Linked DNA regions of Homo sapiens: regions 1, 2, 3, 4, 6 and 7 are each linked to region 5. Evidence: promoter capture Hi-C in human tissues and cell types (Jung and others, 2019). All regions are on one chromosome and are shown on one strand. Each heading gives the region's core, a stretch centred on a gene start or on the middle of the fragment in contact. The rest is flanking DNA. Distances are from core to core; before and after follow the strand shown. Region 1 has its middle 330 kb from the start of SS18. Region 2 has its middle 300 kb from the start of SS18. Region 3 has its middle 65 kb from the start of LINC01894. Region 4 has its middle 150 kb from the start of LINC01894. Region 5 holds the start of ZNF521 (zinc finger protein 521). Region 6 overlaps LINC01894 (long intergenic non-protein coding RNA 1894). Region 7 has its middle 250 kb from the start of SS18.

Region 1 (3,454 bases), core at 930-3,429, 400 kb before region 5:
TAAATGAACACAGTTTATGGATGTATTATTAATGGTACTATTAAACTCTTCAAGCTGACCAGATTTAACATTCTGTTTTGATTTGATTTCTCTTATTACATTTTATAGATATTATAGTCATATGCTTTTTTCAAACCAGCATAGATGAGCATTTAGACAATAGCACTAAAAGAGTATAAGGATTTTTATTTATTATGAAAAGCAAAATTTCAACTCTTTGTTCCTGTTAAAGTGATGATGCTGTTTGGAAATACATTTGTCCAGTTTCTCATCATTTTCAAAATTTAACCTTTGAACTCTAAATCAGCCAGTATCTTAAAAGATTTATACTATGGATCATTAATACATTATTATAAAAAGTATTTTAGTGCTTAAAAAGTCACCAATAACATATGCTGATAAATACATCACTCTAAGAATCCAAATTTCTTGTTTGAAATGGTCTTTCAGAGTTCTACAACCCAAACTGAAGTCTTCTATGAATATGAATTATGGGTAATCTTAGTAAGACTTCTTTCTCTAATTGGAAAATTCAATTTGATTAAAATGACAATTCTACACTTACAGTCATATTTATTTCCATTTGAACCTACAAATGGTCTAAAAATGTTTTCAGAACGTTAAATGGGGACATAATGAGTTTCCTATGGTTGAGTAAGGATGCGCAAGTTAGTGTTATAACACTGCAATTAACATCCATTTTGACTGGGTTAAAGTTTGCCAAATTTTGCCTTTTTGCTTTCAACAAGGCAAAAGTAATTCTGAGGTAAAATAGTACTAGAAAAAGAAAGCACCACTGGAAACTAGAGAGATTTCATTGCTCAAAGATTTTTTTAAACTAACATACTTTCCTCAGGGAAATAAAATATATGAAAGAATCTCTTTGCATTTTTTTGACCCCAAGTGGAAACAAGGTCAATATTTCCTGTTAATCTTTTTTTTTTTTAACAAATCTTTCCCATTTTTCACAGCTATACACGTATGAACATGTTTCTTTACAGACCTTGTGCATGTAAAGTAGTGCAGTTCTAGTTTCCTACATATTTGTGTATTTAGATATGTTGGGCAATATTTTTATTCCTTTCTGATTATAATCTTGGTTATTACCAGAAATGAATCATAGACCTTCAAGTACAACATCCAATTTAAACCTGGCCTCCTTACACATGTTTAATAATATTTATTTGGTAGGGATAATGACCATGAAGGAAAAGGATTATGGACATATTGGGTTTTATTAAATATGTGGTCATATTTTACCATAAGAATATGTAAAATTCTCATAAGAAATACTACAGATGCCAGTCTCTTGTTGAAGTCTCTTGTTGTTGAGATTGGACTTCAAAATGGATGATACATAAGGCATTTATTTGCCACGAACCCCTGTTTTCTCATTTGTGAAATGAGAAGTTCCAGTCTCATGAGTTCTTATTATCCCCCATCCCAGACGATGAGATTCAGCTTGTTAAAAAAGCAGCTCTCATACATTTACAGAATATTTAGGCTTTACGAATCCTACTTATTGGTCTTTGGGAATTATGGTAATGGAGAATCAAAATGGTTTCAATGATTTCTTTTAAGCATATAGTCTTAATATAGGTCTTCAACATACTTTTATTATTGATCTAGTGCTTTTACCATGCAATTTTGCTAACATAAGGACTATTATAAGAGCAATCTGTGATATACAGAGTGACCACAAAGTCCCTATGTTTGACATTATGTCCTCTGATAGTAATTAAAAATGAAATCTACCAGGGACTGATTTAATGTATTTGAACCATCCACATGTAAGAAAACTTGTACCTGATTTTGCCCACTCTGGGTGCCAGAATTCTGGTATTAATTATCAAGTAGAGTTGGTTTAGTCCAGATATCTATATTCCTGAAGCCAATTCCTTGTAGTATAATAATAAAAACATAGTTAATAATGAGAACAGAATAATGATAACATTTTGACTTTGGAATTATACAACATCTCAGAAAGCACTTTTCGCAAAATTTCATTTTCTCCTCATGGCAATTCAGTGATATTTAAGTATGCACTATCAATGTAACATCTCCTTAGGCTGGAACTACTGTAGTTCTCAATTCAAAGAAATTTGATATCTTTTACCTGCTTATTTTATGTCTTCTGAGGATTTAGTGAATTCTCATATTTTTCTAAAGAAAATTTTAATATAGCCAATTCTAAGTTATCTATGCCATGATGGAATGAATAATAATTACAATAACTCCTTACATGTATACACTGTTTGACATTTATTAAACACTTTCAGATGTTTTACTACATTTTTGCAATGTACTTGCTACTTTATTACTTTTTTTTTTTTTTACAATATCTATGTTATAAAATAACATGGGTAATGAAATCAAGGGATGATTAAAACATCTTTAATAGAATTTTGAACCATTTCCCTGAAGAAGTAGATATAAAAATAATTATCAGGTAGTGATGTTTTAATTAACTTAGAACACACACTGAGTTTGGACCAATGCATGAGGGTGCCAGGTGAGACAGACATTTGCCCAAACCCTCAATTTCCTTGGTGTCTTGTCTTCCAAGGTTTTTCCACATGGAGTTTTCTCCCACATAGTGCTGAACTTCTTCCAGTCCGTGGGTGGCGAGAGGTTTTAGTAATATTCGTGCAGCAGATTCAAAAGCTCTGAGTCTTTCACTCACTACTGAAAATATAGAAAGGGGCTGAATTTCCTGTTAACTTGCCCATAATGGGGAAGATACTCATGTAATCCCTTGACTATAGCTTTAAGAGTTGGGAGAGATAGATCAGGAGTTGACTAGTGACCAACATAATCCTATGGCATTCCTAATAATTACATTTGCGAGAAGCTCGCTGTATCTCAGGGGAGCCAATTATTTTGCTGGACAGTATTACTTGTTAAACCAATCCAAATCCATTTCCCTTTCATTTCTCTAAAGGTACTAGCTCTTCCCACTGAAGTAGCAGAGAGGAAGTCAGTCTTATAGCCATAGGATTACATTTCAAATATTTAAACATTGCTATAATTTAGTGATCTCTTTTCCAAGATGGAACTCCCCAACTTCCTCAGGTCTTCCTCTAGCTGATGCTTTAGGTCTTTATCCTTGTCAGCCTCCTCTGGATGCACTGGACTTTGTGAATATTCTTCTAGAATGTAACATTCAGCTATGATCTGACCGATGAAGAAAACAGTGGGACCATAACATCCCATAATTGGGTTATGATTTTTCTATTAAGGCAACCTAAAATTAAATTAGTTCTTCCAGTTTCTGTAACACATTGTTGGTTCATAATGAGCTTATTGTCTAACACAACTTCTAATATTTTTCACATGGTTTGTTGACAAATGTGGTCCATTCTCATCTTTAATTTATAAAATTGATTGTTTTAAATCAAGCTCAGTACTTTTATTATTTAATCTTGTTTTTCTTTTAAATGATTATCTTAGCCTA
Region 2 (3,635 bases), core at 414-2,913, 440 kb before region 5:
GGATGCAATGCTTAAGTTTTCTTGAGAGTTCTAGGAATGAAGAAAATCACATAATTACCCTTTTTTTGCATGGAAAGTCTTTGCACTAATGTCAATCTGCATGTGTATAGGAATTTAAAATTGATGCAAACTCATGATTGTACACTAGACATTGCATTGGGGGCCTATGAGTGTTTTATGAGGAGACGCTTTCTTGGTGAGAAGCCGGATGCTCAGAAGGCTGCTGGAAGGAAATACTTCATTCCAGTCAGCCTTCACCTAAGTGGGAAACAGAGAGGCCCACACTCCTCTCATGGCCATGGGTTGTGGTAATTGCTGATACTTGGATGAGCTGTCAACGTGATAACTGTTTGTCATGTCCCACTTAATTGGAGCCCCATAGAACAATAATGAAGTACCCTCTCCATGCAGATGACTTTGTGATTGATGACCTAGCTGAGGAAATAATTTACAAATACAGGCCAAAATTCAGCCTGGTGATGGATCTCATCTGATATTCTCTTGGTCTTTAGAGTGTGGCTCTTTGATTGACACTCATGGTATTGAAATAACCCAAGAGAAAAATCTTGCCTCTAGACACAACAAAGCCCCCTAAATTGAGTCACTCTTATTGAAATGGCGAAATTTTGTTAGCTTCTTTTCAAGCTGACTGAAGGTTTAGTGCATATATATATTTAATGCTGTGTGAGTGAAAATATTACATTGGAAGTAATATCAGTTGATTGACGTAAAAAATTGAGTTCCATTTGTGCAGGGTCGTTTCTCAGTTAGATGTGCAGAAGCAAGAGGGTGCTGGTGGCCCTGGTAGTCTCAGCATAGTGACGGCTCCTTTGGGAGGAGGTGTTTGTGAAGGGCACAGAGGATGTGTTAGTTTCATGATCAATTTCCACTCCCACAAGCTTTCCCAATTCCTTTCAACAATGAATTGAGTAACATAACAATACATTTTTTTCTTTTGCTGTTCAAGATACTCACTGTTAGAAATATTTGGGTTAATTTAAAAGTTATAAATGAAAGATAGAATATTTCAAGAAAATGTGACCTAATAACCTGTGGCAGTCATTTGTAGAGAAAGGTGCTATTAGTGCTAAGAAGGGTGATTGAGTGCTATTTTAAAAAAATAATTAAATGGGCTAGTATTCATCAGGGGCTGCTCTCAATAGCGTATTCTCAATAAAGGCAGAGGAATCACTCAAACAAGAGGGTTCGGTAAACAATGAAAAGAAGAAGGACATCAAATTATGTGATTAACATTGTCCGTTGCAATGTAAAGTGCAATGCATTTATATAATGTAGACAGGTTCTTGTATTTGTATTTTCCCTTTAGAACCATATTAAATTGAATTAATGTTTATCTGTTACATTCAGAACCTAGAAGTGTGTTCCTAAGGATCTTCAGGAAAGAACATAGAGCAACCAACAATGATGTACAGTGGACCTGTGAGGTCTCATTCAATTACAAAGCGCGTATAGGAAAATCCATCCCTTCGTTTACTCAGTCATCCACTAATTCTCACAATTACATATTGAGGAACTACTAGGTAACAAACATTTGGGCTAAAGTTAGGTTTATATCAAATCTGTTATAAAAATGCATGTTGTTATAGGTATTACATATATAAATGCATGTTTACTTGCATTCATTGGAGTATTGTTGAGCACCTGTTATGTGTAAGGGACAGTGCTAGATATGACTGGAAGGTAGGAATGAATTGGAAACAATACTCTGCATCTTTAACAGAGTAGTGAGGTGCACATGTCAGTTCTGAGATGGGTAGAGCTTGCTTTAGAGAAGCTGCCTTGGGGTAGACAGCATTCGAACTGGTTCCTGAAGGCTAGATTGGATTTCCCTAGGTGGAGATGGGGAAAGAGAAAGCAGAGGGAACATTTTAAGGAAATGTTCAGGGGTAGAAAATGGCAGGGAATGTTTTAGGATGACCATTTGGTGGGGACAGTGTGGGTGCCTAATGATTGCATGAGCTGAGCAGAACAGCTGCAGGAGATGAGGGACCAGATCGTAGCAGGCTTCCTTTCAATCCTGGAGTGGAGAGTTTGAGCTCCGCATTCACACAATGGTGCAGCATTTGTGTTTCCTGAGCAAAGAGTAAGAAAATCAGAGCTGGGCTATAACAACCTTTATCAGATGGTGGAATGGGGACTCTCTTTAAAGGGGGCAGCCTTAGGCAGGGAGACCAACTGTGCAGGCAGTTGGTAGGGACCCAGGTGAGAGGACGTGATAACTATTGATCGTGGAGGGTAAGGAAGGAGAGGCCAAGATGGCGTCACACTTTCCGTGCCTGAGTGGGGAGAGGGACAGACAGAGATGGGGAATGTTTGGGACTAAAGATGGTAAGTTCCACTTTATATTGTATGAACAAAATACACATCAATTTCTCCTGAAAGCAGAAATGGCTTTGCTTGCTAGAATTAAGTGGTCAATAGTTTCCTAAAGTTGACGTTGCTCAGGGAGCGATTTACCATGGCAGGGAAAAGCAGTCTTAGGAGTGCTAACATATCTTTCTCATCATTAGATTTCAGGAATCACAGACAAGACTGTGCCTAAGTGGAGACAGGTAAATAAAGCTTCCTCTCCCCAGCCCCCCTGCGCTCCGCACTAATAGAGATCCAGCTGCTGGGAGCAATGAGAGCAGAAGTGATGTTCGTGGGATCAATGCAACCCTGGATTCTCTTGCCACCAGCCCTGTCTCCTGGGGAGCCATTGAGTTAGTGGAATCAGCAGTGGAAGAGAGGGTGAAATGATATTGGCATGACTTCATTCCCTCAGACATTAGCCAGCGGTGGCTTTCTTTTGTCCATTTTCTGCTCACCTTCGTTGTCTGGCACGTCCTTTTTGTTTTACCTTCTCGTATTGGTTTTCCTTCCCCCAGTTTCTAGATAAGTCTAACCTGATTTGCTCCCCCATCCTCTCTTCTTTTAGTCCTTCCTTTCGCTATATTCCTGCCTCCTACCTTGTTTTTTATTTTTTATTATGAAATACTGCAAACATACAGAAAAAAAATCATCGAGAATAAGTAATGTAACAAACACCTACTTACATACAATGGAACTTTAACGAATGTTAACATTTTGCCTTATTTGCTTTGGATCTTTTTTTATTTCTTTTTTTATTATACTTTAAGTTTTAGGGTACATGTGCACAACATGCAGGTTTGTTACATATGTATACATGTGCCATGTTGGTGTGCTGCACCCATTAACTCATCATTTAACATTAGGTATATCTCCTAATGCTATCCCTCCCCCCTCCCCCCACCCCACAACAGGCCCCGGTGTGTGATGTTCCCCTTCCTGTGTCCATGTGTTGTCATTGTGCAATTCCCACCTATGAGTGAGAACATGTGGTGTTTGGTTTTTCGTCCTTGCGATAGTTTGCTGAGAATGATGGTTTCCAGCTTCATCCATGTCCCTACAAAGGACATGAACTCATCCTTTTTTATGGCTGCATAGTATTCCATGGTGTATATGTGCCACATTTTCTTAATCCAGTCTATCATTGTTGGACATTTGGGTTGGTTCCAAGTCTTTGCTATTGTGAATAGTGCCACAATAAACATATGTGTGCATGTGTCTTTATAGCAGCATGTTTTATAATCCTTTGGGTATATACCCAGTAA
Region 3 (3,256 bases), core at 524-3,023, 430 kb after region 5:
ATGTCAGCATCTAGATGCCTCAGGACCAGCTGTCCAATCCCCCTTCCACCAATCCCTGTTTTAGGTCCTCCATGAACTTTTTCTTAGGGGAAAGCAGAAATCCTATCCCATCCTGCTGCACTCACAGGAAGAGTTTGACAGTGGTTAAGAGATCATTCTCCTCATTCAGCACCTCGGTGAGGTGTGAATTTGCACAAGATGATTCAATATATTTTCTTTGTGTATTCTTCAGTATATTCATGCTGTCCGGTGAATTTTTGACATTTCGGTGTGCTGCTCTAAGCTGCCCGTGTTGGGGACCTGATCCTGACCCTGACTATGGCTTTTAAGCAAGGAGAGCCAGAATAAACCCAGACAAATAGTCCTTTGCAGTGTGCACTGGTGCCCAGGTAGCCCTTGGTTATCTGCTGTGTTCAGTCCTCCGGAGGGAGTGATGAAAAGGGCAGTCGGCCCTCCTTCCAAGATAGCTTGTAAGCAGTCCTGCCTTGAGGCTGAGGGTAGACGAGATGACCCCTCCAGTCCCATCCAGTCTTGGTATCCTGTGATTTCTCACGTGAGTCCATTTTGTGCCCTGGGCTCACGTACATCAATTAAAAACACAACAGTGTATGCTTCCACAGGAGGGAGGAAAATGAACCATAGCAGTCTTCCTATCCGAACCAGACCCCATTTTTCCAAGTCACCACCTTACTCTCATCTGTAAAGCGCTAAATAGCCTGAGACCCAGTTATCTTTGTGACAATCTCTCCCCAGGTGCCCCATCACGGTAATTACGCTCAGCGGGGAGCCTGGAGCTGCCCATCTCTGGAGTTAAACTCATTAAGACAGGAGACTGAGAAATCTCCGCAGAGGGTCCCTGCCCCTGAAATCATGGGCATTCCTCTTCCTTGGCTACCAGTTTTGGGGTTTGGAGGAGTCTGGGGTCTGGTCTGAGGCTCCACATTGCCACAGAGCTTGCTTTAACCTGGATTTGCTGTTGTGATTTGTACTTTGGGGAAGATACTTACTATGGGAGTCTGCAAAGAGAACAGGTTCCATTTCATGAAATGAAATGAGGATTGAAACAAAGCCATGGAGGTTGCTTATTCCAAATATTGAACATGATGAACAAGTTGATTTGTCAATATTTCTCAAAAAACTTAAAAAGAGCTTTTTCTCTGACAGTGCAAATGACAAGATATTTTTCCCTCTGTGCTGTAAAAAGAGTAAGTTTCAAGAACTTTGTAGGGTAGAGATCCCAGGGATGGGAAGAGGGAGGATTCCTGATCAGTAGGATTGGTATGGGTGATAAGGGGGGACACTCCCTTCTAATTAATTAGTGAAAAGAAAAGGAAGTTTCTGGAGGGAAAACAGTAAGAGTCAAGATATAGAAGATAATTGGAGCCCGAGATAGGAACTTGGTTATGAAGAGAGAAGTATGTTCAAGGAAAAGGAGAAAAGAGTAAGAGAAGGAAAGGGGAACTGGAGGAAGACCTAAGGTACTCTCTAGGAGAATAAGAACTTTCTAATGTCTCATAGTTTGATGAAGGTTTGGATAAGATTTTTCAAGAGATTAAAAAAAAAATCTCCATTTGTTTTGTTTAATGGAATGAAATGTCAGACAGGTGACCTGCACTAAAAGATAAGAGGAACTGAGAAATGTGCTCATGGCTGTGTAACGTGTGGCTTTTCTAGTCAAAAATAAATGCCAGAAAGGTCACAACCTATTTGCCTAAGTTGGGCACCAATATTATTTCTGTACTGGTCAACAAGGAACAACCTTGTACTCAAATATCTATCTGTGACAATACCTGGAAGAATCTGTGGATGTTGGACTTTATGAAGACAATAAAAAAATTAACTGAAATGACTGTGCTTATGAAATGAGAACTATATGGGGCAAATCATGAAATAGAATTATTGCAAGAAATCATACATGAATCTATACTGGGGTTCTGTTATCAAGTTCTATTTATTCCTCATTAAAAGAGTGGTTAAAAAACAAATTGAAACAAAACAAAAAAACCCTCATGGATGGTTGTGGATAATACTAGAGGGTTTGTTCTGATTTGGTTGGGATTTATTTTCTTCTCAAATTGTCCAGGTGCTTCTAAGCATCTTGAAATGCATTTCATGTGGTTTTTAGCCCACGGAAGTTTGTATTGCAATCATTGCAAAGCTCTGGGTTCTGAGCCTGGTAATTTAGAGAGGGAGGAAGAAAATCCAAGGTATTTCTTCCCTCTCTTTCTGCTTCAGGTGGCATTTCTATCTCCCTTGCAGTCCCAGATCCTTGGTGCAGGCCTGCCCTCTGTGACCTCACTTGCCATCAGACAGCATCTGGGTTCTGAAAACACCACGGCCTCAACTCAGACCTTCGAGTCCTAGAGGTTTCCTGTTGTTGTAAATCTCTGATTTGCCTTCCTGCCATTTTTTATGTGTTTGTTTGTTTTTGTTTTTGTTAACTGTTCCAACACCTTTATAACCAGTACCCCATATAAAATTCCCCCCATCGAGCTGATATGAGCTCTGTTTCTCTGGCTGGATTCCAGCTGATTAAGGCACTTATTATTTGGAGAAAATAATTAGAGAGTATATGTGATTTTTTTATTTAAAAAAAGAACAGGGACTATGCTAATTTATTGCTAAAGAGCATTTGTCCTTCTCACTTTAAAATATCTGCAGCCAGTTAATTATTAGTAAAGAGTCGTTTCCCTCTACTTTGTGGATGGTCTGGTAGCCCGCCTATGCTGTAGAGAAGATGGGTCTCCATTGCTCCTTCTGTGGGAAGAATAACTTCTAGCAAGGACCAAGGCTCAAGATGCATCCCTCATTGAGCAGAAGCTTAGAGTCCATGGCATTTCCTGTGAATCACTGTTAAAACCCTCCGTGGCCATAGCAGATTGGGATTTTAGTCTCTCAACAGTTCATACTCATGGTAGGCACAGGAGAAAACAAGGTTGGCCCAGAAGCCACTCAGGTCACTTGTGAGCAAAGACAAGAGGCAATTTCTCAGTGAAAAATTATGGCGGAAAGAAAAGTACAAGAGACCCACACACAGGAACTGAGGACATTTTGAGGCCCCAGCAGAGCTGAAGAAGTTGACCACTTGCAAGAAAGGCATGTCGGAGTTCGCAGTGAGTTAGGAAAGGGTAATTTTTAAGACCCATTTTATTAAGGAATCCCAGAGGACACACACACACACACACGAAATGAGAAGTGATGATTAGAGGGCCACATTCAGCAATTCAATTCAATAAACACTTTCAGAAACACCTTC
Region 4 (3,594 bases), core at 8-2,507, 510 kb after region 5:
CCTTGAGGTTTCAACAGTGGTAAATGAGACAGCATTGAAGCCATCATTCTTACCATTGATGGGGAAGCCAGAATGGATGGTCATCTCCTGCCCTGTAAGCACTGGCAGAATGAGGCAGGCAACTACGAAAATGAAACCAGAGAGGGCCGGGCAGGGTGGCTCATGCCTGTAATCCCAGCACTTTGGGAAGCCGAGGGGTGTGGATCACTTGAGGACAGGAGTTCAAGACCAGCCTGGCCAACATGGTGAAACCCTGTCTCTACTAAAAATACAAAAATTAGCTGGGCATGGTCGTCTGCCTCTGTAATCCCAGCTACTCAGGAGGCTGAGGCAGAAGAATCACTTGAATCCCAGAGGCAGAGTTTGCAGTGAGTCGAGCTCATACCACTGCATTCCAGCCTGGGAGATAGAGTGAGACTCTGTCTCAAAAAAAAAAAAAAAAATGAGGCTGGGTGTGGTGGCTCACGCCTGTAATCTGAGCACTTTGGGAGGCCGAAGTGGGCAGATCACAAGGTCAGGAGTTCGAGACCAGCCTGGGCAATATGGTGAAACCCCATCTCTACTAAAAAAAATACAAAAATTAGCCAGGCATGGTGGCGCGTGCCTGTAGTCCCAGCTGGGAGGCTGAGGCAGGAGAATCACTTGAACCTGGGAGGCGGAGGTTATAGTGAGCCAAGATTGTGCCACTGCACTCCAGCCTGGGTGACAGAGTGAGACTTTGTCTCAAAAAAAAAAAAAAAAAAAAAGTGAAACCAGAGAGGCATAAACTTGAGACTTTACATATGGTGGAAATGAGACCCTGAGAAGTGGAGTAAATCACCCAAGTCTGGCAACTTGTGATGATGGAGCCTGGCCTTGAACTCACAGGAAGTCTACGCTCCAGGGTCTGAGCTCCTAAACACCAGCTGTGTTGCTCCCCTGTTTGAAAGGGAGCTATCCTAAAATAACAGTAATAAGTAATCATGGATGATGTGGTTTGGATCTGTGTCCCCACCAAACCTCATGTCTAATTATAATCCCCACTGTTGGAGGTGGGGCCTGATGGGAAGTGATTGGATCATGGGGGTGGTTCTTCATGGTTTAACACCATCCCTCTTGGTGCTGTTGTGATAGTGAGTTCTTGTGAGACCTGGTTGTTTAAAAGTGTGTGGCAGCACCTTCCCTGCTTTCTCCTGCTCCAACCACGTAAAACGTGCCTGCTTCTGCTTGGCCTTTCGCCATGGTTGTAAGTTTCCTGAGGCCTCCCCAGCAGCAGAAGCCACTATGCCTCCTGTACAATCTGCAGAACTGTGAGCCAATTAAACCTCTGTTCTTTATAAATTACCCAGTCTTGGGTATTTCTTTATAGCAGTGCAAGAACTGAACTAGTGTGCTTTCCCCTCAAGGCAATCTACTTTCACTTCAACCAGGGCCTTGTTGGGGAAAAATATGTATGCCACGTCTCAAGAGGAGACTCCTTAATGACAGAAACTAAAGGAACCTCAAAGGCCAGAAAGACAGACTTTGAAAGCTTCACTTTCTAAATATCCAACCTGTTTCATAAAAGGCCACATGCCATGTCCAACACATATTCAGTCAGCTTCTTACCAGCTCCAGGATCTTCTCTCTCAGTAGCTGGCTGACAATCCTGCCACTGCTGCTCCCCGAGCCCGGGGCTCTCCCTCCCATCTCTTTTCTCTCTCCCTTTCCCTCTTTTGCTTGGGCACCAACCATCCATGACCCTCTTTCATTTCTCCTGACTCACTTTCTTTCTCTCTTTTCCCTCCCTTTCTCATATCTCTTCCTCATCTCACAAGATTATTAAATATTCTCATATTAAATAGTTTAATATGTGAATCAAGTTCATAATACATATACATTTATACTCGGAAGCTCATAAATGTATAAAGAAATGCTGCATAAATAGATGTGCATCGCTTCATCCAGTTTCTGAAGGAGCCTCACTCAGGCTCAGCCCTCCAATGAGCTGAGTTTGTCGCTAAGAATCTAAGCATTTCCCCTGGTGAACATTCTAATTTCTGTCCTGTCCTTTCTTTGTATATCTTTCCAGTATCCTTAAGAATGATCTTTGAGAAAACAACACGGAAGAAAAAATAAAGATAGAAAGTCATAATAATGCCTAATGTGTACTTTGAGCTTTGTATCTGCAAGGCTTCACAAATACTGTCCTATTTAATCTCCCAACAACTCCACAGCTAATGAAAGTATCATTGAATACCTACATGGATCATCTCATTTAGTGGGAGAAGAAAATAAGGCTTCAAGAAGCTGAACAACTTCCTGGTGCAGGCACAAGAAAGAGGCAGAGCAAAGCCGAAGCCTCCTGACCCCGAGTAGAGCACTCATGTCACTTTACTACAACTGCCTCAGGGAAATGAGGAAGAAGGCCAGAGATAGATGCATAAAGGAATATAAGGTGAGCGAGGAGAAGATCAAAGTCAAGAAAGAAGGTGGGGGTGTGAGAGAGACGAAAGAATAAAGAACCACTGCTCTGGAGGGCGGTTACGAAATCTTCAGCTAAAGCTTCGGAAGGAATGTCTCAAGATGGGATACGCAGGAAGTGGAAAGTTATTCTGCAGGTCAGTGTTTTACTACGGATTGTGCTGGGCAGTGTAGGAGTTCTCAGACAGGGCCATGCCTCATGTCTCTGAAATGCTGTGGTTCTTACCCAGGCCCATGCACAGGGAGAAGGGGAGCGAAGAGATGGGGTGCTCAGCCACAGGGCTCCCACAGATATGGATTCTGCACAGCTGGCTTCAGGGACTAATTCAGGTTAATGAAATGTGTGTTTTCCTGAGCACCTATAGAACACCAGGAATTATTCTGGTGTGGAGGGAGAACGAAGAGCAATAAAACCCATCCCTGTCCTCAGCAAGCTTGGCAGGGTGGAGAGAAGCCTGCTGATGCTAAGTGTAGATACAAAGCTATCTGCCTGTGAAGGGAGAGGGTATCCTTGCTACACACCTCTCCATTCACTGGGTGTATTTTACCATTTGGAACACTGGTCCTATGAGGTACTCCCTGTAAAAAGCAATATGTTGTCAAGTCTGACTGGGTAATGGAATGTCTGCTTAAGTAAATGATAAGAAGAAAGCTATCTCCTCCCTGGCTGGGGGTCTTTGGATGCATATTTAATCCTGGCTCTTCCATTGATTAGCTGTGTGAGCTTAGACTGCACATAACTAACTTTATATTTTTTGTTTACAGAGTGCTCTGTTAGGAAGCTTGTTGCCTGGTGCTTTGTTAACCTAACAATCAATGCAATGCCTTTGTCCACTGCTTTCCCTTCACCTCCCCCCACCTCATCCCAAACACACACACACACACACACACACACACAGCCACATACACAAAGACACACACACACACGCGTATGCACATATACACACACACACATACAAACACGCATGTACACATAGACATACACAGACACATATACACATACAGACATGCATACCCATAAACACACATACACACATAGACACATACACATACGTACATGCATACACACGCAAATACACACAGACACAGATATACACATACACACATACACCTACATACATACACACATAGGCGCACACACACACACACACA
Region 5 (3,173 bases), core at 36-2,535:
TCCAGGCAGTTTACAGGTTAGACTGGAAAAAATACAACTTCCTTAAAGCTTTGATGTCTTTGCATGGTGGCTTAATAGATAGCTGTACCTTAATTTTACAGAACGGAGAATTTTTAAAATCTGATTAAGAACAATAGTATTTGTACAAAATTCTGCCTGTTTTGTGTAATTAACCGTATTCTGAATCTCTTAATTTCCACCAAGACTTGTGAATCTAAGCTCTACTTGGTAGCCCTCTCAGGCATTTATAACTTGACAAGCGTGTCCAATCAATAAATAGCAACAACAATAATAATACTAAAACATCCTTTCCCTTAAGATAAGGTAAAAGAAGGAAACAGGTGATGGTTTCTTGTTTTGCGATGGGAGCAGGTGAAAAGTTAGAAAACAAAACTGCGAAAAGAAACAAAAATTCCCACCGACCTGCAGACATTTCAATTTATTTTAGAAACTATTTTCTTGTACACATATTCTTAAGTGCATATTTCCTTACCTCTTGCTTAAAGAAAAAATCAACAGAAAGCTTTATTTTCTGGACAAAGATCTATGTCAATTTGAGAATGTTAAAAAAGTGAACTCAAAGCTGTCTCTTTTGAATCACATTATGACATTCGTCAGCATCAATGACTTTCTCTAAACGAGAAAATAAAAAAAAAGTCCAAATAACTTGCCTTTATAAAGATTCCAAGTAAGAGAGACTTGGCAGGTCTGCGGTTGCCATAAAAAAGATTTCCCGAGTCCGGGCAACAACAGCAGACACACTTTTTTAAAGTCCGACAATGCAAAAGCCAAGCAATGAATTTCCCCCCTCCTTTCTTTTTCTTTTTCTTTTTCTTTTTTTTTTTTTTTTTTTTTGCCCCCTCAAGAACAAATTGTTGCCTCCTTTTACATCCATCCTACCAGAAGGGGGACCTTTCCACTTTCAGATGCTCCTCTGCTTTAATTTCTGAAGAGGAAAAAAAGCGAGCAGAAGAGCCCCGAGATCCGCCGTGGAGCTCTAATAACGCAGCTGCGGCGGCGGCGACGGCGGCGGCGCGGGGTGTGCGAGCGGCCGGGCGGGCGGCGCGAGGGGCGGCGGCGCAGGAGCGGGCGGGGCGCGCGGCGCGTGGGAGGCGGCGGCGGCGGCGGCGGCGGCGGGCGGGGCTCGGGGCGCTCGGCCGCCGCCTGGCTCCGGATCCGCGCGCCGCGGCCGGCGCCTCCAGTCCGGGTCTTGGCGGGCCCCCTCCTCCCTCCCGCTCCCCGCGCTCTCGCCTTTTAATCATGCCCCTCTGTCTGTGTGTGAGTGCAGGCAGGCTGACAATGATTTCCTCAGTGATTACGTACAGAGCGAGTCCCTGCGGGTTAGGGGCCCCCTCTGGAGCCATCCTGATGGCTTTGGGGGCCTTGCTTCCATTTTCCATTATTATGTGGACTACCGGAGCGACAGCGCAGTCCAAGACCTTGCAGGTTTGTGATGAGGAGGGAGCACACAGCACACTCCTTCTCCTCCTCCTGCTCCCGGCTCTCCTCCTCCTCCTCCTCCTGCTCTCGCCGCCGCTGCCGCCGCCGCTGCCGCCGCTGCTGCCGCCGCCGCTGCCGAGGCAGCCGTAGACTTTAGAGCCCCGGTCCAGCGCCAGCCGCCGGCGCCGCGCCCCCGCCCAGAGAGGGGCGCCCCGAGCCCGGGCCCCGCACACCCCCTGCACACAAGCAGCCCCGCACACCACCTGGGGGCCGTCGGCTCGGGTGCTTTGGCTTTTTCTTTTTGAAAGAAATTACTTTAGTGTGGGTTAAGAAAAAAAGGGTGGGGGGAAGGGAGAAAAAAAGTATTTTTTTCCCTTTGCTTATTTTCGTGGCCCGTTCGCATCTGCCTCGGATGGTGGGAGATTTTTCTTTCCAAGACCTTTTCATCGCCTTGCAGGGTCGATTTCCCCCCCTCGTCCCCCCAACTACAAAAGAGCACGACTCGCTTTGTAAACAAATCAGTGTTATTTGTTTTTTTCCGGTGGGGGGGGGGGCGGATTTGTTGAAAAGGAAAAGCGGTAAAGAAAAAAAAAATCACCCAGACGCTTTTCTTTTTATTAGTTTTTTTCTATTCGCATGAACTATGTGAATTTTGATTGAGGTGGAAATAGTAACGGATTTTCTCTTTTTAGTGTAGCTGACGGCTCTTCAAACATTGTCTTTGGGGTTTTTTTTTTAGCTTTTTTTCCCTCCTTTCCTTTTTTCTTTTTCCTTTTTTTTTTTTTTTCTTGGAGATTGGGGGTGGGGGTCGAAGGCTGGGAAAGTTTGGTGCAGCAGCCGCCGCCGCCGCCGCCGCCGTCGTGCAGAGCGCGGAGCTCGGGCAGCCGCGAGCCCCGCGCGCGAGCGCGAGCCGGAGCCGGAGCGAGGAGCGGAGCGCGGAGCGAGGGCGCGAGGGAGGCCGAGCGGAGGGCGCGAGGCGCCGCGGCCCGAGGGGCGCGCGGCCACGAGGAAGTATAGTTTCTTTCAGGGCTGAATTGAAACAACTTCAGCTGTTTGCTTTTAGGATGTCTCGCCGCAAGCAAGCGAAACCGAGATCCCTCAAAGGTAAGGAGGAACCCCCTGCTCCCCGCTTTCCCCCATCCGCGAGTGTCACTGTGGGTAGCGGAGCGAGGGCTGCGTGGCTGCGAGGCGTGTGCGCGCGTGAGTGTGAGTGTGAGTGCGGGGGCGCGCGCGCTCCCCTCCCCGCTGAGCCCCTAGGTGGAGTGAGGGTGAGGTGTCGGGGTGGGGGGAGACGAAGACGGGAGGAGGATCCCCGAATGGGGCGGCGGTAGAAAGTGGGCGAGAAAAGACAACAACAACCGAAAAAAAAAAAGAGAGAGAGAGAGAAAGAAACGAAATTATCCGGAGAGGGAGGAAAAAAAAATATCCCGTCTGAGATCTACATCTGGGCTGGAGGAAAAAGTTTCTGTTGTGTGTTTTCGCAAAGAATAAATATGCAAAACCGTGCGGTGCTTCTTTTTTCCTTTTCTTTGGAAGAAGAAAAAAGTCATCTCGGAGGTGGGGAGCAGCCCCCGCTCGTGACAAACGTGGCCCGGGGTCCCGGCCGCCGCCTCCCGCCCGCCCGCGTCCTGCTTGGGTCCTCTCCGCACGTCGCCGGAGTAAACAGACCCCGGCCGCCGGCCGCGGGCACCGGACCCCGGCTCGGGCCTCAGAGCACCCCTCTTGGCCATTCC
Region 6 (3,491 bases), core at 106-2,605, 400 kb after region 5:
TCTATAGAAAAAGTCAGAGACCATCTTATCTCTTGATTGGAGTAGAGAGGCCATTACATCCTTGGCATTGTGTTGTGCAAATTTGTTGAGCTCATTTCCAACCCTTCCATTATCCAGATAAGAATGTGCTCAGACAGTTAAAGGTTAAGTTATGAATATTATCTGGCACATGTGAGACAAGCACATTTGTTTTAATGTTTATATTAGAAAAGGTGATAGAGGTTGGTGGCTATTCTTTACTTATTTCAAATGGCCCAGAGGAAAACTTAAGCTTTAACTCTTCCTACAGATGTTTCAGGAGGGTATAGCTGCAAATCACAGCCTACATCACAGAATAACTGAATCCAGTGCATCATTGTTTGTTCCCTTGATTTAGCATTTTTATTTGGAGAAATATACCTGGTGGATCTCAGTCATTAGAACTAAGTGTGGTTGGAATCAGATGGTCGTGTTGCCACGTAGAACTTCTCCAGTTAAGCATCTCACATTTCTTCCAGACCCCATAATGAGTACCCAGCCTCACGTTTTTCAGGCAGTGCAGAAACTTTGGGATGTGCTCACTGCCAAGGACACAGCCACTATCTACTGTTTCCTTTGACTCCAAAGCAATCCACTAGGCTGATTTTTGCTTTGTACCAGATCAGTTCCACTTTGAATCTTAACTGGAGCAGTCAGAAGGTGTGTGTGTATCTATAAATATAGGGTTCTGTCAGCTTAGTCCAATTTGGTTGAGAGAGGGGAGAGAGAGAGAGACAGACAGACAGAGAGAGAAAGAGAGAGATGGTGCTAAATAAATGGTATTCAGTTCTAAATGAAGCCTCTCAATTAGTATTAAACATTTTTTTAAACAATCAAGATATTAAAGCTAGAAAGGAGTTAATGAGCCTATAGAGAAAGTAACTTCTAAAGATCATTGTGCTTGGGACGGTAATTGCTTTATGACATTTTGATGTCATTACAACATAAAATTAGGAGGGCAAAATGTTTCAAGAGTGTTTCTTCAGATACCCTGTTAGGAAGCTATTAAAAGGCAAGAGTATGCTGGCAAAATGATTTCAGTGTGTGCCTTTGGATACCTGCTTAGCAAAACATCATGAACTGAAGCTACAATGCAAAATGATTCCAATGTGTGTTTTTCAGAAAACACCCATTCCACTGCTGTTATGTCCGAATTGTAGTGGATGATTAAACTTGAAAGCAAGAACGAACGTAAGGGAAAAAAATCAGTGGAGATTAGTCTCAATTATGATGTCAGAGTGAAATGAGACAATCATAAGCATCAGGATTGAACCTCAAACCCTCCCTGAACCAAGCACTGTCTGAGCAATGACGTTCATGAGATGCTGAGACTTTCCAGTTTTTCTCATTATGGTAAAAATGACATCTTTCACTGAAGGACCAAAACAGTTTTATGTATTAAGAGGTTGCAAAACAATATGGTTTGTGGTAAGGAGGTCAATTTGCAGCTGAAATTCTAAATCTGCATAAATGCAAGAAAAATCCTTTTTCTCTAGAAAACTGGAATATTGAAATACTCTTCTGCTATTGCACCCAGAAATTAATTATAAATGATAATTACAATGGAGGCTGCCTTTTTAAAAAATTCTCTGAAACATATCCAAGAATCACAACCGGGTGCGCACCAATATCCTAAGTCTCTTACACAATCTCTCCTTTCTCCCCCAGATGTTGCCTCCTGCTGTGCAATCTTCACATCCAAAGAGGCACTAAGAAGCAAAACATCTGGGATGCTCTATTATAGAAGTTAGTGCTTAGAGGAAAAGAGGGTTAAAATAACTAATGTCTCTTTCTGTCAGTCCATGAAGCCAATTTTACTTTTCCGATGTTTGCCAGTAAGCACAATGTTCTGTAAATGCGACATATTTTAAAAGTCTCCTGGCCTGTATCTTTCATGCTTATCAATGGGTTCATTGGAACTCACAGTTATGTTTTGTTTTGTGTGTGATGTTTATCTGTTTGCATGTGCAGATATGTATGTGTGTGTTTCTGTGCATATATGCTGTGCTGGTGGCAGTAAATATACTTGTAATGGTAAGAGAATGTGAAACTCAATTAGCCTGTTCTCAGAAATAAAGAAATAAGAAATTGGTTGAGATTAATATCTCCCATCACAAACACAGTGGGAAAGTTGGTTCTCATCGCTCCTGACAGCAGAGTGCCAATGGAACCATTAGGCACCATGCCACCTCTCTTCTCATGGTACCACATATAATTATGTGATGAGGTGTGGAGTCTACATTTTCAAACAAAAGAGAGATGGCCTCTGGATAGATTTAGCAAGACCATGGTCTTTCTACGTAAAAGACGCTGCGGACAAGGACACCTGAATATATTTTCTGTCTTGTATCCCAACATCCTTGCTTTTACCCAATTCTGTTTCATGTTAGAATAAAATAATTGTGGTTTTAGATTAGTTGAACATGAATCAGAGTAAAGAAAGAGACAGGGCCCTATTCAGTTTCAATTCAGTTACAGAATTTGGTATATCTCTTAGTTTTAGGCCTACTGATAGCTGCTTAGAGAGTCACTTCTGTTCGGGCAAAAAATGCCCCTGTCAGAATGTATTTATGAGGTTACTCTGACTGCATAAACCCCTTCAACTTTGCTCAATGATGCTATCAAAGCTCTCAACGGAGTTTGAGTTTTAATTATTTACTATTTATGTATTTTGTAAACTCCTCAGAGAAAGTGATGCTATAACAGCTCAGTATTATTATTAACGTTATTATATGCATATGCACTGCCACTTATTTTTGAAGAGTAAATATTTGTGCTAATTATATCAGTGTCATCCACTGTGCTAATTATATCAATATCAACATGTTGATATTAATATAATTAATTAGCACAAAGATTTACTCTTCAAAAATACATGGCAGCGTCTCTGATTCATTTGCCGTGAGGGGAGCATGAGGGGAGCACGGTTCTGCAGCACTGTATTTAGGCTCTGATATGCAATCAGCTTTAATAATTACCTAATACTGTAGGTGGCCTTAGACAAGTAAAATGGTTTTTTCCAGGTTTCCTGGGAATTGGATGCTGAGATGAAAAGCATATGAGTAGCTTTCTTCCAGCATTCTTCTTGGTGATTAACCAACTATCCAAGTACAAAGTTGCTCCTAATTAACCCTGAGGACCCCAATATAAAGGTAGGTGGAATGAATTAAAGTGTTTAAAAAAGAGAAAAAATAATTCTTCTGAATTAACTGTTATCGTTAAACAATATCTGGCTTGTTATATTTTAATTAAAAAAAAAACTACCCAGCAATAAGAATCAGAAAGGGGATGTAAAAAACATCTGAGTCATGAACAACGAGAGCAGTGAGCAGAATTTAATTTGTGGCTACTCATTATGTAATAAGCTCCTGGTAATTGTATTAATGACAATGACATTATGATAATAGTTTACGTTTATTGATTTCACTCTAAAACAGACATAGTGCTAAGTGTTTTTTATGTACTATTTTATC
Region 7 (3,235 bases), core at 433-2,932, 490 kb before region 5:
TTGCTGCCTGGAATAAGTCCCAATTGTAATAGGAGGACAGAAGGTCAAAAGGACTGCATAGTTAGAAAACTTAGAAAAACCTAATATGTTCAAGTCAGCAGGACCTGATGGCTTGCCCTGTAGGATACTGAATGAATTTTCAACTTTCATCTTAGGACTGTTAGATAGTGTTTCCCCCAAATCACAGAGGATTGGAAAATCCCCTAAGGATAGCAAAAGGGTAAACGAGGTGCCCATCTTTGAGAGAGAAAGACAGGATGACCCTGAAAATTTCAGAACTGTGAGCTTAACATCGATACCTGGGAAGATCTTGAAATAAATCACCAAATAATCAATTGAATAGCACCTGAAAGGACATAAAATACTAAGTAGCAATCAGTAAAGCTCTGTAAAGAGCAAATAGTGCCAGACCAATTTAATTTCCTCCCATGATTGTGAGAGGCTATGTAGACCAGTGGAATTGATTGATGGGATCTATCTCAATTTTAGTAAAGATTTTGATTTCTTAACTAAGGCACTGTCTTTGATATGTTATTAAAGTATATTTCTGTCTACACTTCTGCTAGAGGATAGAAGGCTTCACCCCAAGGGGAGTTATCAATCTAGGGGGACATATTGAGTGCTATCTCAGAGGTATTGGGGCTAGGATCTATCCTACTCAATAGCTATTTTGATGGGCTGGATGAAGGAATTAAGATTATCCTCATGAAATTTGCAGCAGGCACTAAATTAGGTGAAGTTGTTGCTGCTCAGCAAGACAGAAATAAAATTCAAAATGGCCTTGACTCATTGAGAAAATGGCTCCACAAAGCTGGGATAAATTTCAATGGGGACAAGTGTAAAGTGGCACGGGCACCCCCACAGCCCTAGAATAGTGGTTTGGGCATACTTGGCGCTCAGCAAATATCTGCAGCACCTTCCTTGCAGTGTTGTTGTGAAGATCAAAGTGTGATAATGATGCGGAAGTGCTCTGTAAACCACAAAGTGCCTTATAAATGGTAAAGGTCTGCCCCAATAAGAGGAAACTTATTATTAAAGGCAAGGAAATATGTCCTGTGAGGAAATGTTAAAAGAAGTGGAGCTGTTTAATCAACAGAAGAGAAGAAAAAGAGAAGATTTCATGAATGTAACCATTTTATAAGGGTTTTAACAAAAGAAATGATTTTCTCATCTCTATTTGTGTGAAGAAAAAATGAACTTGAATAACACAAGACATATTTCAGTTAGACATGAGGAGGAACTTCTTACCTAGGTTGGGTCCCCTATGGGGACACCACGCTTCTCTTTCCTTGTAGATGTTACACTTGGTCAACGTTAGCCAGCTCACTGCATAGGATCTCTGCAGGCCCTTGTTATATCTGTACTATCTGGAATAGGACTTGACATCTAGTATATACACAATAAATATTAATAACGGTTGAATGTGTGATTGTCAGGTATAAAATATTGGCTAAAAACTTGGGGAGTCAACTTTCTTAGAGATCTTTAAAAAATAAGGGTGATTTATTCTAGGAGACAAAATCTTTCCAAACATTGATTTCATGAGTGTATGTATTTTAAAAAGAAGTGAAAATACTTATGATATATTCTCATCCTAGTCTTAGCTTTGGCCCTCATGGATAGGACTACTAGCAAAAGAGGAAAGGAGGCAAAATCTTACGATCTCAGTCCCATCAATACCTTGTTTCTAGCCACAGAACCCTCATGAGGAAAAAGGAAGAGTAAGGAAAGTACAGCTAGCTATTCATGGTATCTGCTAAAATTGGAACCATTTTCTATATCTTAACTGTTCATTTCCACATCTGTTTTTCTAGAATCTCTGGTCCAGGCCACAGAAGACATAATCAGTGGGTTGATGTTGGAGTATTCTCTCCCCAGCTTTGCCCTAAGGCTTGGGAGGTGACAGGATGGGCCAGGAAGGTCTCTGCTCCCATTGTTGGGGTATTTATTACTGGTATTTATTCCCAGTTGGGATTGTAGACTAATCTCTCCCCAGTCCTTCCACTAAAACCTACTTTAAATGGATTATTGCATAATTAAGATGTATCTTTTAAAAATGACATGCATTATTTAGTTTCTAAGTAAAGCCATAAATTTTACACATGAGTGTTCTGGAATTATGCCCAGAAGGGGTCATTCTTTGAGGCAGTCAATCCAGATGGCTGCCTTGCAGCATCTACAATTGCCATCAGTGGCTTGGACCTGGGGTGGGTGTCCATGTCGCTTCTTGTTTTCTGGGTAGCAAGATGAACTGAGTGTGTGTTGAGCTGTATGTATCAAAGGCAGGGATTTTTAATCTGGAGTTCATACACTGGCCTCTGATGTGTCAGTGAATCCCTGTGGCCAAAATACGTTTCCCTGTGTATATGGGTGTGTGCTTTTTCCTGGGGAGACGACCCATTGGTTAAGAAAGAGTGTACTAGGTTTTTAGGAGAAAATCAAGTGGCAAGAGGGTTGGGTTGTCCCTACCAAGATGGAAGGAATGGCAGAGAAAGTGTTTTGGTACAGTTTGTACCATAGGGAGGAGGTGCTGAAGCCGGCTGTTCAGCCACTGGAGTCAGGTGGGGAGTCACTTACCATCAGAGAGCTCTGTCCATTGGCAGCATCATGCCAGCCAGCAGGGACTGCAGCAGGCCCATCCCAGGAGGATGGATGCTGGCAAAATGGTGGGGATATGGACTGCAGCTCCAAACTCAGAGAGGCATGTAAAATTATTTTATTTTCTAAAATACAATTCTATTAGAACCTCTATCACTTTGTGCTGGTAGTGAATTTAATCTCAATTATTTCAGAGTTTCCCCCTCTCTAGGGCCATTAGATGGTTCTAGAGGGTTGACACAATTTCAAGGCCTGGAGAGACCTTGTGGATATTGGTCACATGTCTCCCTAAGCCATTGTTGAGATGGCCATTGTCCAGTCTGTGCCTGGGCAACTAGGAAGGTAACTGGTGAGAGTGATGGGACTCCTGGGGAGTACGCATGGGAGGTGGGCATGGGGTTGATGGCAGGGAAAGCTGACCCTGAGGAGTTTGGGAATCTAGGAACTGGATATGATAAATGAACAGCAAGGGAATTTGGAGGAAAGGTGTGAACCCAGCAGTTGTATCTGGGCCTATCGCTAGTTCAAGGTGATGCCCTGTGTGTTCAGGGTGGCCTGAGACAATGGATAGACTTTTGGCTTTAGGTAGAATTGGCTCAGGAATTGGGGTGGAATTGAGTCTGAAAATGAGGGTCAT

Evidence for each region. The method cuts DNA at HindIII sites, captures the fragments that hold promoters and counts their contacts. A contact is called where the count stands out against the background at its distance.
Region 1: a fragment that was not itself captured here is called in contact with the fragment with the promoter of ZNF521 in region 5 in 1 of the 25 tissues and cell types used here (mesendoderm cells).
Region 2: a fragment that was not itself captured here is called in contact with the fragment with the promoter of ZNF521 in region 5 in 1 of the 25 tissues and cell types used here (lymphoblastoid cells).
Region 3: a contact is called between a fragment that was not itself captured here and the fragment with the promoter of ZNF521 in region 5, in 2 of the 25 tissues and cell types used here (dorsolateral prefrontal cortex and small bowel).
Region 4: a contact is called between a fragment that was not itself captured here and the fragment with the promoter of ZNF521 in region 5, in 1 of the 25 tissues and cell types used here (heart left ventricle).
Region 6: a contact is called between a fragment that was not itself captured here and the fragment with the promoter of ZNF521 in region 5, in 2 of the 25 tissues and cell types used here (H1 embryonic stem cells and mesendoderm cells).
Region 7: a contact is called between a fragment that was not itself captured here and the fragment with the promoter of ZNF521 in region 5, in 1 of the 25 tissues and cell types used here (IMR-90 fibroblasts).

The regions. Positions count from the first base shown.
Region 1 is chr18:25,755,781-25,759,234 of GRCh38, reverse strand. No RefSeq gene overlaps it. Among named protein-coding and RNA genes, the nearest start is that of SS18, 330 kb to the left of the region's middle. The HindIII fragment of the contact is 5,504 bases long and covers 1-3,454 here.
Region 2 is chr18:25,791,230-25,794,864 of GRCh38, reverse strand. No RefSeq gene overlaps it. Among named protein-coding and RNA genes, the nearest start is that of SS18, 300 kb to the left of the region's middle. The HindIII fragment of the contact is 4,204 bases long and covers 1-3,635 here.
Region 3 is chr18:24,921,748-24,925,003 of GRCh38, reverse strand. No RefSeq gene overlaps it. Among named protein-coding and RNA genes, the nearest start is that of LINC01894, 65 kb to the left of the region's middle. RefSeq lists an enhancer at 419-1,104. The HindIII fragment of the contact is 5,508 bases long and covers 1-3,256 here.
Region 4 is chr18:24,840,678-24,844,271 of GRCh38, reverse strand. No RefSeq gene overlaps it. Among named protein-coding and RNA genes, the nearest start is that of LINC01894, 150 kb to the left of the region's middle. The HindIII fragment of the contact is 3,586 bases long and covers 1-3,050 here.
Region 5 is chr18:25,350,278-25,353,450 of GRCh38, reverse strand. It overlaps ZNF521 (zinc finger protein 521), which reads left to right and starts at 1,285. Exons shown (of 8, transcript NM_015461.3): 1 at 1,285-1,446; 2 at 2,504-2,544. The coding sequence starts at 2,505. RefSeq lists a silencer at 1,190-1,259. The HindIII fragment of the contact is 6,455 bases long and covers 287-3,173 here.
Region 6 is chr18:24,945,925-24,949,415 of GRCh38, reverse strand. The region is part of intron 1 of LINC01894 (long intergenic non-protein coding RNA 1894); the gene reads left to right. Among named protein-coding and RNA genes, the nearest start is that of LINC01894, 40 kb to the left of the region's middle. The HindIII fragment of the contact is 6,134 bases long and covers 1-3,491 here.
Region 7 is chr18:25,841,684-25,844,918 of GRCh38, reverse strand. No RefSeq gene overlaps it. Among named protein-coding and RNA genes, the nearest start is that of SS18, 250 kb to the left of the region's middle. The HindIII fragment of the contact is 5,651 bases long and covers 1-3,235 here.